2 separate regions of the Homo sapiens genome follow, and region 1 is linked to region 2. The links are contacts of gene promoters, found by promoter capture Hi-C in blood cells and fetal thymus (Javierre and others, 2016). All regions are on one chromosome and are shown on one strand. Each heading gives the region's core, a stretch centred on a gene start or on the middle of the fragment in contact. The rest is flanking DNA. Distances are from core to core; before and after follow the strand shown.

The links. The method cuts DNA at HindIII sites, captures the fragments that hold promoters and counts their contacts. A CHiCAGO score of 5 or more calls a contact.
Region 1: a fragment that was not itself captured here is called in contact with the fragment with the promoter of TMEM154 in region 2 in 2 of 17 cell types (total B cells and monocytes); the score reaches 5.5 in total B cells.

What each region holds. Positions count from the first base shown.
Region 1 is chr4:152,432,410-152,439,401 of GRCh38, forward strand. All of the region lies in intron 2 of FBXW7 (F-box and WD repeat domain containing 7), which reads right to left. Among named protein-coding and RNA genes, the nearest start is that of MIR3140, 54 kb to the right of the region's middle. The HindIII fragment of the contact is 2,678 bases long and covers 3,960-6,637 here.
Region 2 is chr4:152,677,716-152,685,337 of GRCh38, forward strand. TMEM154 (transmembrane protein 154) reads right to left here and starts at 2,282. Exons shown (of 7, transcript NM_152680.3): 1 at 2,155-2,282. The coding sequence starts at 2,218. LOC105377495 (a long non-coding RNA gene) reads left to right here and starts at 2,370. Exons shown (of 4, transcript XR_939359.3): 1 at 2,370-2,589; 2 at 2,872-2,958; 3 at 3,360-3,425; 4 at 3,648-3,947. RefSeq lists enhancers at 1,916-2,745, 2,056-2,365. The HindIII fragment of the contact is 2,211 bases long and covers 1,814-4,024 here.

The sequences.
Region 1 (6,992 bases), core at 4,049-6,548, 240 kb before region 2:
CAATTAATATGTAATTTAATTGAGGTACTTTTTATATAAAGTAGAAAGCGCAGTGAGTTTTGAAAAACATATATATCTATATATACAACACCTTAATCAAGACACAGAATATTTCAGCCAGGTGCGGTGGCTCATGCCTGCAATCCCAGCACTTTGGGGGGCCAAGGCAGGTGGATCATTTGAGGTCAGGAGTTCAAGACCAGCCTGACCAACATAGTGAACCCCCATCTCTACTAAAAACACAAAAAAAAAATTAGCCGGGTATGGCGGCACAAGCCTGCAGTCCCAGCTACTAAAGAGGCTGAGGCAGGAGAATCACTTGAACCTGGGAGGCACAGGTTGCAGTGAGACGAGATCGCGACACTGCACTCCAGCCTGGGAAACAGAGCGAGACACTGTCTCAAAAAGAAAAAGGTATTGAATATTTTCATCACTCCATAAAGTTCCCTCTTTTCTCATGTCCCATTCCCATTCTAATCACTCCTTAGCACATTTAGATAACTACTGTTCCATCAGTGCAGATTAGTTTTGTGGATTTTGAAACATCATTTTTATATGATGTTTATATGACTCATGCTGCATTACTTTTGTTGTCTTTTTCCTTAATTCAGCATACTGTTTTTGATATTCGTGTTGTCGCATGTATCAGAAATCCATTCTTTTCTGTCCCTGTGTACTTTCTATTGTATGAATATACCTCAATTTATTTATCACTTCTCTTGATGAATGTTGGGGAGTTGTTTTCAGTTTTTGGTCATTCTGAATAAAGCTGCTATAAGCATTCTTGTGCCAGCCTATTTGTGGACATTTCTCCTGGGTAAATAACTAGGAGTGCTTGCTCATAGGGTGAGTGTTTTTTCTAAGAAACTGTCAATTAGTTTTCCACAGGAATGGTACCATTTTACACTTCCACCAGCCATGTAAGAGAGTTTCAGCTGCTTCCTATTTTCACCAACATTCAGTGGTGACTGACTTCTTTTAATTTTAGCTATTCTTGTGGATGGAAAGTAGTATGGCATTGTGGTTTTAATCTGCATCTCCATGGTGGCTAATATTATTGAGGACTTCTTCATGTATTAACCCTTCTCATATCTTCTTTAGTCAACTGTTTTTTCCACCACTTTTTCACTCAATTAAAATTTGCATTAAAAATGAACAAATAAATAAATCAATGACTCCTGTGATTGTTTGCCCTTTCTCAGACAGATTTTAGCTTCCATATGCAAACACTGAAGTCATGGTGACTGTTGCGCTCTACCTAAAAAGAAGGAATCTATGTGCTCTCAGTCACAGGATTTTTTCCAGTAGTCTTCAGTCTTGAACTTCAGCAAACAGAAATATCCATAACAATTTAAAATGGACACTTACATTTTCATGTTTAAAAATCTATATTCACTATGCTTTCTAGTTCACAATCTGAAAAAAAAATGATTGACTATTTTCTAGGAAATGGAAAAATTATTCCACGCATCTTACATGTATTTGTTGGTTAATGCTTTTAGAAACTATAGGAAGTAACAGAATACAGTTGTCCCTCAAACAACATGAGTTTGAACAGCACAGGTGCACTTATACGTGGATTTTTTTTCAATAAATACAGTCAGCTCTCCATATCCACATATCAAAAGTATTCTCCACATTAATGGGATATAGAAACCCAAGTATACAGAGGACCAACTTTGCATATATGTTGGTTCTGCAGGACTAGTATACCTAGATTTTGGTGTGAGGGTCCTGGAACCAATCCCCTGCAGATACTGAGGGATGCCTATATATGGACAGTAAGTGTCGTACGGACAGCTGAGTTTCACTTCCTGAATGTGGAAAAGAACCTATTATTTATTGTCTGTGTATATACATGAGTATATCCTTGCATTTTAAAGCTCAGTACTATAATGCAAACTTGCTATGTGGTACCAATTAACATCAAAAAGAAGTAATAAAGTAGAAGTAGTTTTTGCTTTCTTCATGAAATTGGAAAGTGAGACGTGCAATAGCAAGCATGTTCACTTTTCTAGCCTTCTACTTCTTATAATGTATATAAAAAAGATAATATGTTCATCAAATCTGTCCTCTATGCCTTAGTTTACCCCCTGTCCTAATAATACTGCATTGCCTTCTTAGTCTCTATGTCCCCAACTTTCTCCTGAATGTTCCACCACTATTTACTGACTTTTTTATAAAGAGAAAAGAGAGGTTCTTGTATCAAGACCTATGCCATTCAATTTCCATAGTTCCTTGACAAGGATATACAGAAGGGAGAGGGAAGGTGACTTCCTTACCAGCAGGGTAAGACAAAAATCGTTAAAGAGAAGAAAATATCATTTGCAAAGATACAGACATATGAGAGCATACAACATATTGAAATACAAATAGATCAATATTGTTGAGAAATATACAATTTCAGACAAACTGATGTGTATAGATAGAGGTTTGTATAATGTGCTTCAGAGTTTAGATTTTATCCTACAGAACAGTGGTTTTCAGAAGTTCTGTAGTCACTCAGGGGTTCCTAATTCTCTGTTCCCCCAACCTCCTTTCCCCCCGCTCCCCCCCCCCCACACACAAGCTCTTCCTTTACATGTTTAATATTCTGCCTTCATTTGAGCAATGGGTTCAGCATGCAAAAGGTTTGGAAACTACTAACGAGAGGCCTGGGGAGGGGAGGGGAGGGGAGGGGAGGGGAGGGGAGGGGTTTCCAACATGATGCACCATCCCCTACCAAACACGTAAGTATGCATTTCTTATAAAAAGGACATACTTCTTCATAATCACAATATAAATGTTAAAGTAAGGAAAATGGCACTGACATATCAGACTGTCTATTCCTCAGAACCCATTTGAGTTTTGTATCTGAAATACTTCCTTGATCCTTTCTTTATTTTCATTCCTTTAACAACTTTGAAAGATTATAAGCCATTCATTTTGTATAACGGCCCTTAATTTTGGTTTGTCTAATTTTGGATTCACATTATGCATCGCAGGCAGGAATATGACGGAAGTGATACTATGTTTCTCTCATTGCTTTGTATTATCAGGTAGGCATATTTCCAGTTCATCCCATTATTGATCTTCACTTTCAACCTTTCTCAATCTTTCTACACTGGAGGCACACTTAAAATAATTTTCAGATCTCAGGAACCCCTGCATTAAAATGGTTGTATCTACAACTCACACTACATTAGCTTGATTAGCAAGTTGTAGATATAATAATTCAATGATACTTGTCAGTGCTCTTCTGAGTAGACGATTTTTTTTCTGCGGGTTTGTTTTACAGGCATACCTCATTTTACTGGACTGCAGTTTACTGCACTTCACAAATAGTATATTTTTTTAAAAATTGGAAGTTTGTGGCAATCCTATGTTGAGCAAGTCTATCAGCACAATTTTTTCAAAAGCATGTGGTAACTTCATGTCTCTGTATCACATTTTGGTAATTCTTGCAGTATTTCAAACTTTTTCATTATTATTGTATCTATTATGATGATCAATGATCAGTGATCTTTCATGTTACTACTGTAATTGTTTTGGGGTGCCACAAACCGCACCCATGGAAGACGGCAAAAATGTTGTGTATTCTGACTACTACACCAACCAGCCATTCCCCCATCTTTGTCCCTCTCCTTAGGCCTCCCTATCCCCTAAGACAAAACAATATTAAAATTAGGCCAATTAATAATCCTAAAATGGCCTCTAAGCATTCAGGCAAAAAGGAAGAGTCTCACTTTAAATCAAAAGCTAGAAATGCAAAAGAAAAGTTCTTGAAGGAAATTAAAAGTGCTACTCCAGTGAACACATAAATGATAAGAAAGTGAAATAGCCTTATTGTTGATATGGAAAAAGTTTTGAGTGATCTGAATAAAAGGTCAAATCAACCATAACATTTCCTTAGACCAAAGCTTTATCCAGAGCAAGGCCCTAACTCACTTCAATTCTATGAAGGCTGAGAGAGGTGAGAAAGCTTCAGAAGAAAAGCTGGAAGCTAGCAGAGGTTGGTTCACGGGCTTAAAAAAAGAAGCTGTCTTGATAACATATAAGTACAAGGTAAAGCAGCAAATGCTGATGCAGAAGCTGCAGCAAGTTACCTAAAAGGTCTAGCTAACTAAGATCACTGACGAAGGTGGCTACACTAAACAACAGATTTTCACTGTAGATGAAACAGCCCCCTGCTGGAAGATGCCATCCATGACTCTTCTAGCTGGACAGGTGAAGTCAATACCTGCCTTCCAAACTAAAGGACAGGCTGACTCTCTTGTTAGGGGCTGATGCTGCTGTTGACTTTAGGTAGAACAGTGCTCATTTACCATTCCAAAAACTGTAGAGCTCTTAAGAATTAGGCTAAATATACTCTCCCTGTGCTCTACAAATGGAATAACAGAGCCTAGATGGCAGCACATCCATTTATTGCAAGACTTTACTAGACATTTTAAGCCCACTGTTGAGACCTACTGCTCAGAATGAAAGATTCCTTTCAAATATTACTCATTGCTCAATGACAACGAACCTGGTCACCCAAGAGCTCTGATGGAGATGTACATGGAGATTCATGTTGTTTTCATGCCTAATAATACAATACCCATTCTGCAGCCCATTAATCAAGGGTCATTTCTACTTTCCAGTCTTGTTTTAGAAATACATTAGCTGTTTTATATATATACATAGTGAATCCTCTGATGGATCTGGGCAAAGTAAATTGAAAACCTTTTGAGAAGGATAACTGCACTCCAGATACCATTAAGAATATCTGTGTTTCACAGAAGGAGGTCAAAATATCAACATCAACAGGAGTTTGGAAGAAGTTGATTCCAACCCTCGTGGATGACTTTGAGGGGTTCAAGACTTCAGTGGAGGGCTACTCAGGAGGCTGAGGCAGAAGAATCACTTGAACCCGGCAGGCGCAAGTTGCAGTGAGCTGACTGAGATCGTGCCACTGCACTCCAGCCTGGGAGACAGAGCCAGACTCCATCTCAAAAAAAAAAAAAATTCAGTGGCGGAAGTCACTGCAGGCGCGTAGAAATAGCAAGAGAACTAGAATTAGAACTGGAGTTTGACAATGTGACTAAACTGTTGCAATCTCATAATAAAACTTGAATGGATAAGGTGTTGTTTCTTCTGAATGAGCAAGGAAAGTAGTTTCCTGAGACAAAGTTAAACAATTTAGAATACTGCATACACTTAATTGATAAACCAGCGGCAGGATTTGAAAGGATTGCCTCCAGTTTTGAAAGAAGTTCTACTCTGCATAAAATGCTATCAAACAGCATCACACGCTACAGAGAAATCGTTCATGACAGGAAGAGTCAATCAATGCAGCAAACTTCATTGTTATTTTAAGAAACTGACACAGCCATTCCAACCCTCAGCAACATCACTCTATCAGTCAGCAGCCATCAACACTGAGGCAAGACTACAGCAGTAAAATGATCGTGACTCCCTGAAGGCTCAGGTGATTGTTAGCATTTTTTAGCAATCAAGTATTTTTTAGCCAGGCGCGATGGCTCACGCTTGTAATCTCAGCACTTTGGGAGGCAGAGGTGGGCAGATCACTTGAGGTCAGGAGTTCAAGACCAGCCTGGCCAACATGGTGAAACCCGGTCTCTACTAAAAATATAAAATTAGCCGGGTGTGGTGGCGGGTGCCTGTAATCCCAGCTACTTGGAAGGCAGAGGCAAGAGAATCGCTTGAACCTGAGAGGCGGAGGTTACAGCGAGCCAATACCATACCACTGCACTCCAGCCTGGGCAACAGAGCAAGACTGTCTCAATAAATAAATAAATAGTAAAGTATTTTTTAGTTAAGGTATGCACACTTTTTAGACAGAATGCTATTGCATACTTAATAGGCTACAATGCCATGTAAATATAACTTTATATGCACTGGGGAAACAATAAATTCTTGTGACTAACTTTATTATGATATTTGCTTAATTGTAGTGGTCTAGAACCAAATCCATGGTATCTTCAAAGTATTAATTCTAACAAAAAGTGGCCAGGCACGGTGGCTCATGCCTGTAATCTCAGCACTTTGGGAGGCCAAGCCAGGTGGATCACTTGAGGTCAGGAGTTCGAGACCAACTTGGCCAACATGGTGAAACACTGTCTCTACTAAAAACATAAAAATTAGCCAGGAGTGGCACACACCTGTAATCTCAGCTACTCAGGAGGCTGAGGAACGAGAATCACTTGAACCCCAGAGGCAAAAGTTGCAGTGAGCCGAGATTACATCACTGCACTCGAGCCTGGGTGACAGACTGAGACTCTGTCTCAAAAAAACAAAAACACTCTATTTTAAAACATAAAGCTATACAAGTAAAGTAAGGGACAAATGGTACTGGTAAACCTACTCCATCACCCAGTACTACCCTACCCACATGGGAGATGTGCGTGGACTTATTTAACAGCACAGAAAAAATATACAAACATGCACACCCACTGCTACTTCATGTCAATATAGTAGCAGCAATGATAAAACAATGGGACAACTACAGACAACAGTCTACTTTCCTATTAAGACATGTTCTTGTAGTGTACATTAGTTCATTCATTCATCATTTGGGCGATGAGGTCAGTATAATGTGAATGTCACTTTAGTCCAAAATTTTCCCCAGCATAGTAAAGTTTTAAAGCCAGCAGGGACAAGCTTTCTCACAAAGACAGAGCTTAAGCAATACATGATGACCTTAAGAAAAAAACTAGAAATCCAGAAGAGGGTAACCAGAGGCTAGTTAATGGCTTTAAACTGCTAGGCATTCCACAATGTTAAAACCATCTGGTCAAGCTGTGAGTACAGATAGAAAATCCATGACAATATTTTTCCCACGTTAATTTTTTTTTTTAAGGGGTGAGAGGCAACTGATAAAAACTACACCCTGGATCAGATTTACTAGTTTTCACAATTTCATCATAAGTAGAAATGAATGTTCTCGAGGACCTACATTTCAAAGGAGAAAGCATAAATCCTAGAACTTAGAACTAACTGGGGTAAATATTTAG
Region 2 (7,622 bases), core at 1,032-3,531:
CATCTTTGACTTCTCTTTACATTCCAACACTACCTGTTTTCAGGAGCTATCAGTTTTTTTTGTAATCAGCCTCATATCCATTCTAGGGATGATTTTCATATTTATCAACAATTATTTTCTCATTTATGCTGAGCCCTTACAGGATTTTGGAAAGTCAAAGGTGAACTACAGAGGATTTTCCCTGGAGCTGTTCACAGCCAGTTGGGAGGCATGGACACAATTATGGTTCAAAGTGATTAGCAGAAGTTTAGGTCTATCGGGGCACAGCAGCAGGTACGAGTAGAGCTCCAGGGAAGGGGCAGAGAAAGGAGACATCAAGGAGGAGATCACATTTAGTTTGATACTTTTAAGGTGATACAAGAATTTGCTAGGTAGGAAAAAGAATGTATTCATTATAGGCAAGAGCCACGGAGGGGGACGACAACTGGAAGGAGGTGCCACTGGGAAGGAGGTTGCAGTGAGAGTCTAAGGGGCAAAAATGAGGAACAAGTGAAGGGGCATAAATGAGGGGTCCTTAAGGGGGAAGATGTGCACGATCAGATTCAGGTGTCAGAAAGGCAACTTTAACCAAGTCTCTTCAGATTCTCTTTTTGCATCTCCTGAATTGCAGACACTAGGACTCAATCATTTTTTAGAAGCTAAAAAAAAAGTTCAGGCAAGATGAATTAGTATTAAGGGAGTGTTTGAGGCACCTGTGGCAGTGTTGTGCAATAGAAGAGGTGGAAGGAGGATGGCTAGGCTTTTCTTCCCTGATGTCCTACTACGAAAGGTTCCAGAGCTCTTGGCAGAGACAGTGATTGGTTCCGGGGCGGCGGTGGGGGGAGGGGGGCAGTGGTGGTGGGGGGTGGAGGAGCTCAAAGAACTCTGGAGTAGAAGCCAGAAGAGCTGACTAGCAGCAAGACCCAGACATCTCCCTTCTTCCACCTCTGTTTCTTCACCTGTGTGCCCAATATGGTTTGAGCTGCATCATCTTCAAGTTCCCTTCCAGCTCCAAAACACTGGGCATAAAACAACACATCAACTTCCAAACCCACTCTGAACACTAAACTCAATTTAACCAGACATCTTTTCAGCTGGAATGATTTGCCTTCCACTTTGTTTTCTACCTCAGATGCCTGGGGGACCACATGGAGAACACCCAGGGGAAGAGAAATTGATGGAGTGGGGTGGCTGGGTGCTGGCTGCTGACCTCCAGGAAGTTGTCACATCTGTTAGGTTGGGGCTGATGTCCCTCATTCTATCTAAAGAACTGTAGCTTGAGAACTTTCCTTTTGCTTGGTAAATACTGCCCTACACTAGAAGCAGTCGGTGTTCATTGACAGAAACAATGGGCAGCCAGTGTATTTGCCCAAAGGCAAGTCAACAAGAGAGGCAGCTGAAGGTGCTTGTGCTTGTTGTAGCAACTGGCAAGGGTGTAAATCAGTTGTTGCTTTTAGCCCATAATAATGAGATTCAATATTGTTTTTTCCAATACCTTTGATTGGTTCCAATCATATTACTTTTTCAAACAAATCTTCATTAGTAACAATCAATGCAAAAAAAAAATCTGTAAAAGTAACAAGGTGCAATAAAAGTAGATGAAAGACCTTACTTGATGTGTTAGAGGGCTACCCTCTAACACATAGCTCTTTGGTAGCTCTTCGGATAATTTCCCGTTTCCTTTTTTTTTTTTTAAGTTTATGTCGTTTCTTTAGTATGCTTTCTAGTAGTAAATTTTCACACCCCAGTTTTTCCAGGAGATTTTGGAATCAGCAGACTTCTCAGCCCACACCATAAAAAGCAAATTAATCATGTCTCTGTTTCAGCCAATTGAAGCTTTTGTTTTTTTTTACATAAACTGCCAAAAAGTTTATGGTTTTCTTAATATGCCCATTAAAGCTGGTAAATTACAGGGACGCACACTTCCTGGAAGACAAAGACTGAAAGAGGGTTAAATGAAGTGAGAGCTGTAGCCAGTTTAGACAGCTGCAGCGAAAGCGAAGTCCCCTCTCCATCCCACCCCCCAAAAAAAGGAGTTCTAATTTTCTCCACTTCTTTCACAGAAAGGATTAGATTTTCTGGGTGTCACCCTCCCCGGCAGAGTTCTGTAGCCTCGGGCACCCTACCAGCTTTTGCGATCCTCCTTCCCAGGAGTAGGAAGTGGAGGCGGCTTACCCCGGCCGACGGGAACGAGCGCGATCACCAGGGCGAAGACTAGGGCTGCGCGGGGAGCCTGCATGTCCGCTCGCCTCGGCAGAGGCGCGCTCAGGATGCTGCGCCGGGCTGCAGCCTCTCTGAAACGTGAACATTTCCTGTTTCCTGCTTGTTTGGGTCGGTGCTGACTTGAAGGAGAGGTGTGTGCCTGTTTTTTAGGAAGTGATGTAATTCTGCAGGAGCCTGTCAGACCAGCAAGGATTGCAAAAGAGAAGTTGCTGTTGAAGCACTGGTTCTATTATCACGCCTCTCCAGCCCTTTGGAGTCCCGGCCTCCAGCTTTTGAAACCGTCCCCGGGGCAACAGAGTCCCTTGCTCAGATGTCGTTCGGTATCTGGGACTGGGAGGGGTCCTGGACCACACGCATTCTCACTCTGTGATTTTGCTTATCCCCCAGGTGAGGCTCCGGGGCTGCCTAGACCCTAGGAAGAAGCTGTCCTGTAGAACTTTCTGCCCTGATGGAAATGTTCCAAGTCTGCGCCGTCTGATACAGTATCAGCCACATTGGCCACTGAGCATTTGAACTGAGGCTAGTGCTGATGGAATTTAAATTTTATTGAATTTTTATAAAATTTTAATAACTCCAAGTGGCTAGTGGCTGCTGTGTTGGATAGCGCAGGCCCAGACAGCAGGGACAACTGCATCATCAGAAAACTGCCAGACCACTTCTCTCCGCCAGGTCCATTCTCCTTTCTCCACTCTGGAATGCCCTCCTCCCACCAAGGCCCACGCCAGATGGAGGTGGATGCCACACCCACACCTTAAGGTTATGTTCTGCTTCCCCAGAGAGAAATGATCTTTTCAAGGTCCATTTCCAAAGGAGAATATGCTCTGAGGGTGGAGGTAGGGGTGAATCTGCATCTCACCTTCCTTCCTTCTTACTTGACAATCAAGTTCTCAGACAACAAACAAAACAGGACAGAAACGAAATAGAATAATGGTAGAAATCCTATCCAATCGAAACAATACAGAAAGGTTGTGTCTAGTATACAGTGGAGATTAGTGTGTGTTGGGTGTTCTATTGGAGGTCCTTCCCTTGGTTTAGGTTTAGGGCCTAAGCATTCAGAATGCAGTTTCATAATCGTGGTGCCAAGAGAGACAGACAGATGGAGAGAGGGGTAGTGTTGAGGCATCAGACACATCTCATCTCTAAACCTTTCCCTGCAGATCACCATCTGAGTCATGACTTCCCGTCGTTTGTCTTCAGTGATCTGGTTGGTGCAAACGTATGAGGTGACTGGAATTCCTTAGCCCCTGACATAGCTGTTAATTTTTCTTTAATGCATTGCTGCTTTTCAATGTCATTAGTCACTGTTTATCTCAGTTATTATTCACAAGAAATAGGTTGGTGATTCATGTAAGGATCAGTTTGTTAATGGATTTACAGTATGCACTTTAATGTTTTAAACTGGCAATTAAGTCAATTCTTGATAAAATATGCTTTTTGCACCACAGGTGACAATACAGAACAAACAGCAGGAGAAAATAGACGTGCTCAAAACTGGGTGATTGATTTGAAAACAACAGAGAAAGAACTATTAATTAAACACTTGCTGAGCATGTGAATAGATCACGGGCTCCAAGACCTGCTGGTACTGAGTTGGGGTGGCAATTATTCCTGTACAAGCACGTGTTTCTGCAGCTGTGACACACACGTGCAAGAAAGCAGGCCCAGGGCTTGGGAGTTCTCTCCATTTTACCATTTATGCCCTATTAAAATATTATTAAATGTTATTAAAACATTGTTGAATCCCAGGCTGGAGGCAAATGTTTGTCAAGGGCAAGGTTGTCAGCCTTCGTTTCTTTCATCTTAAACTTCAGCTCCCTGTGGAAGCTTTTGCAGTCAGGTGTCTGTGGATTGGACCACAGACTGTCTTATTCTGTGGACCTCTGCTGAGCCCCATGACATGGCCAAACAGTTCATTACTGTTTCAACAAGTGCACTATGCATTGCTTCTGAGCAGTGCAACACTAAATCAGAGTGAGGTACAAAATAAACTGGAGCTGCAGAGAAATCCTGCCCAACCATGTAATTTTCTTTTGACCCCTGTGCTCTCTAAGACCCTTAGCATGATTAAGCTGATCTTAGGGGGAAGAAAATTACCATGATTGATCAGAAAATGGTAGCACCTCAATGATCTCTTTGCTGCAGTTAAAATCCCAGGGAGGCTGTGTGGTAGGTAAAGGGCTATTTACCTCTGTTTTAATTTTAGCAACCATTAATTTAGGCAAATAGCCACCCAGCCTCAGATTAAATCCCGATGCACTGGTGGCAGGAAGTCAGGGCCTCAGTCCCAGATGTGGGGCACAGGGGAACCTCAGAGTGAGTGGCACACAGGCAGGGGTAATGCCACTTTGGAGCCTGCCATTGGCTGTCTGAAAGCAGGAAAGAAGTATGGTGCTTCATCATGTTCAGAAGGGCAGGAAGGGACACTGGGAACCATGTCTAGGGACTCTTTATTACTTTACACAAAGGAGTGTGACTTTTACAATCAACTGTCTGTGCTACAGAAGTGACTCTCATCCTATCCTCCCTCCCTTCCCCCCGCCCCCTCCCCACCACCACTCCATGGGCCATAAAAGAAGAGGGACTCCAAGGGAACAAATCCAGATAAATGATAGGATCTTCCAGTGGGTGCAGACAGCCTTCTCCGCGTTCCTCTTCACACTCCGATCCTGCCATTCCCAATACACACAGATGTGCACATGCACTCAGATACACACACAGCTGTCTCTCACACACACATTCATGCACATGGTGGAAATAAATGAAGACTAAATGAGCACAAGCAAATGAAACCAAGCAATGGATATTAATTCAGAGCTTGCCATAGCAAGAGAGTCAGCCACCATCGCTGCATTTTGGCACAGACCCAAAGGCAGGCCAAGGAATGAGATAACTTTACAGTCGATAAAAGGAAGGCTCAGGGCCGGGTGCAGTGGCTCATACCTGTAATCCCAGCACTTTGGGAGGACAAGGTGGGCGGATCACCTGAGGTCAGGAGTTCAAGACCAGCCTGGCCAATATAGTAAAACCCCATCTCTACAAAAATACAAAAATTAGCCGGGCATGATGCGGGGTACCTGTAATCCCAGCTACTCGGAAGGCTGAGGCAGAAGAATCACTTGTACCTGAGAGGTGGAGGTTGCAGTGAGCCGAGATCCCACCATTGCAGTCCAGCCTGGGCGACAGAGCAAGAGTCGTTTCAGAAAAAAAACAAAAGGAAGGCTCAGGTATGGCCTGAAGGGAGGCTGCTGGCATGGGGAACCAGCAGCAAGTTCTAGTGATTGGTGAGGAGGTGCATATTTTGCTGCTGCTAGATCAGAAGAGGAGATAAAAATGAGGGAATCTGTCAGAAGGTGCTCTGACCTCCTACAAGTTTGATTTCTAGCAGGCTGGCTTCCTAGACTTGCTACTGAAGATAGTGAATTGGTTTCTGGGGGTTGGTTGCTGCAAGCTGGGAGCCAGTGTTCTGTTTTTGCATATATTATTTGGCCACTGTCCATTTGTACATCCAGTCTCCCAACACACACCCACAGGCACACTCACATACTCAGAAATGTGCACACGTGCTCACACACACACGCTCTCACATCGACACTCACATACAAATGTTCTGGAGCTTCTTTCTCTGTCTAAATGCCTGCTAGTGACAGTGGATGGTTCCTGGGTGTTTGGTTGGCTGTGGGCTGGCCCTCAAACAAGATAATAGTAACATCAGGTGGGGCCTGTGTATCACTCTGAAGCCAGCTAGGAAGGTGCAGGGAGGAGGCAGATTGAAGTCCCAGGTTCTGAAGGAATGCCCAGAGAGGTAGCCGGGCAGGGCAGAGGCTGGGGCAGAAGGATTAGGCTGACATTTAGCGTGTGCAGAGAAGCCACAGCCAGGAGAGGGGCTGACAGCCATCTCACTGCGCGTGAAGTGGGGGCAGCTGGAGCCTGCACAGCCGGGCTCATCTTGACCAGCCTATCTCCACCCTTGGGGGTCTCTGTCTCTGCATCCTGGCTGCCAATACTCTTCAGAGAAACTGTTGCAAGGTTTGGATAATCCTAGGGGCTTCCATGACAGGGTCTTCCAGGGCCTAGGTAGATGGCCTGGTCACCACAACATGAAACTGTAAAGGATTGTGATTAGGAGCTAAAGTGGCAGTTGACACGTGGGACACAGTGCAGCGCTCTGGGCTAGAGGGTGCTGGGGCGTATCTAAGAGACAGAGCAGCAGCTCACTGCTGAACATCCACAGTCCTCCTCTAATTGCCCTCTGAGAGCAATGGCATTCTCTGTCTTGCTCTCCAGTCTATCCTCAGCATTTAGGACAGAGAACAGAGAAGTGAGTAAATGGGGGGAAAATCCCTTTACAGCAGTATTTTTTTAAGTGCACTGGAGGGGGCCACCTATGTTAGAATTATTCAGGGGAGCTTGTTAAAATTCAGAGTCCTGGACCCTATGCCAGAACTATTGAGTCAGAATCCCTAGAGCTGAGGTCCATAACTCTGTATTTGTAATGTTTGAGGGGATTTTTATGCATGATAGATAAAACTCGAGAATCATGTGTTAGTTAGTTCCTGGAAATTATTGCTAGTTCCTAGAAAGGTCCCTTTTCTCCAAAGGTAAGAAATAAAAAGCACGTTGTATTTTCCTGTTTTGCCTTGACTGCCAGGAGGCCTGGAACTAAAAGTTGAAGCTTGGTTGTGTAACTTTTATTAGCCCAGGTGTCTTTACCATTTCTAGGAATATTTCTTTTCCTGGCTAACTGTAACTCATCTGTCTAGCCCTAATTTAGAAGACATCTCCACCAGGGAGCTATCTTAGAAGCCTTCCTCCTCCCCCTAACCCAAGCTGAACAAAATGCTCATCCTTTACTGCCACCCACATAACACCCATCAGAATACAACCAGAAGACCTGGCTGTGTCTCTGTCTCCCCGCCTTGATTACCCTCGTCTCACTCATCTGTGGTCTCCTGCATCTGTTAAAAGGAACTAGACTTCTTCTTCTATTGCTGTTTTGTTTTTGATCAAATCATATCTTAAGGCCTTTTCCACCCAAGTCTCTCCAAATATTTTGCAAGTAGGACATACCTCATTAATAAATATATAGTATTTATACCAAAGTCCACTCCAGAATGATACATGCAGATTGATGGCCTCAATGATTCTTCTTTTGCTTTTCTGTTGAATTTGACTTTCCCGATTCACAGTTGATAGTGCCCTTGCGAACTAAATCTTCAACACCAATGGAACTAGAAAAAACAAAGGAACAAAAGATTTGGAGGATGTAGCAAATTATAAAAGAAAGCCTGGGCAATACAGTGAGATCCCGTCTCTACAAAAAATAAAAAAATTAGCCGTGCATGGTGGCACCTACCTGTAGTCCCAGCTACTCAAGAGGCTGAGGCAGGAGGATCACTGGAGCCTGGGAGTTCAAGGCTGCT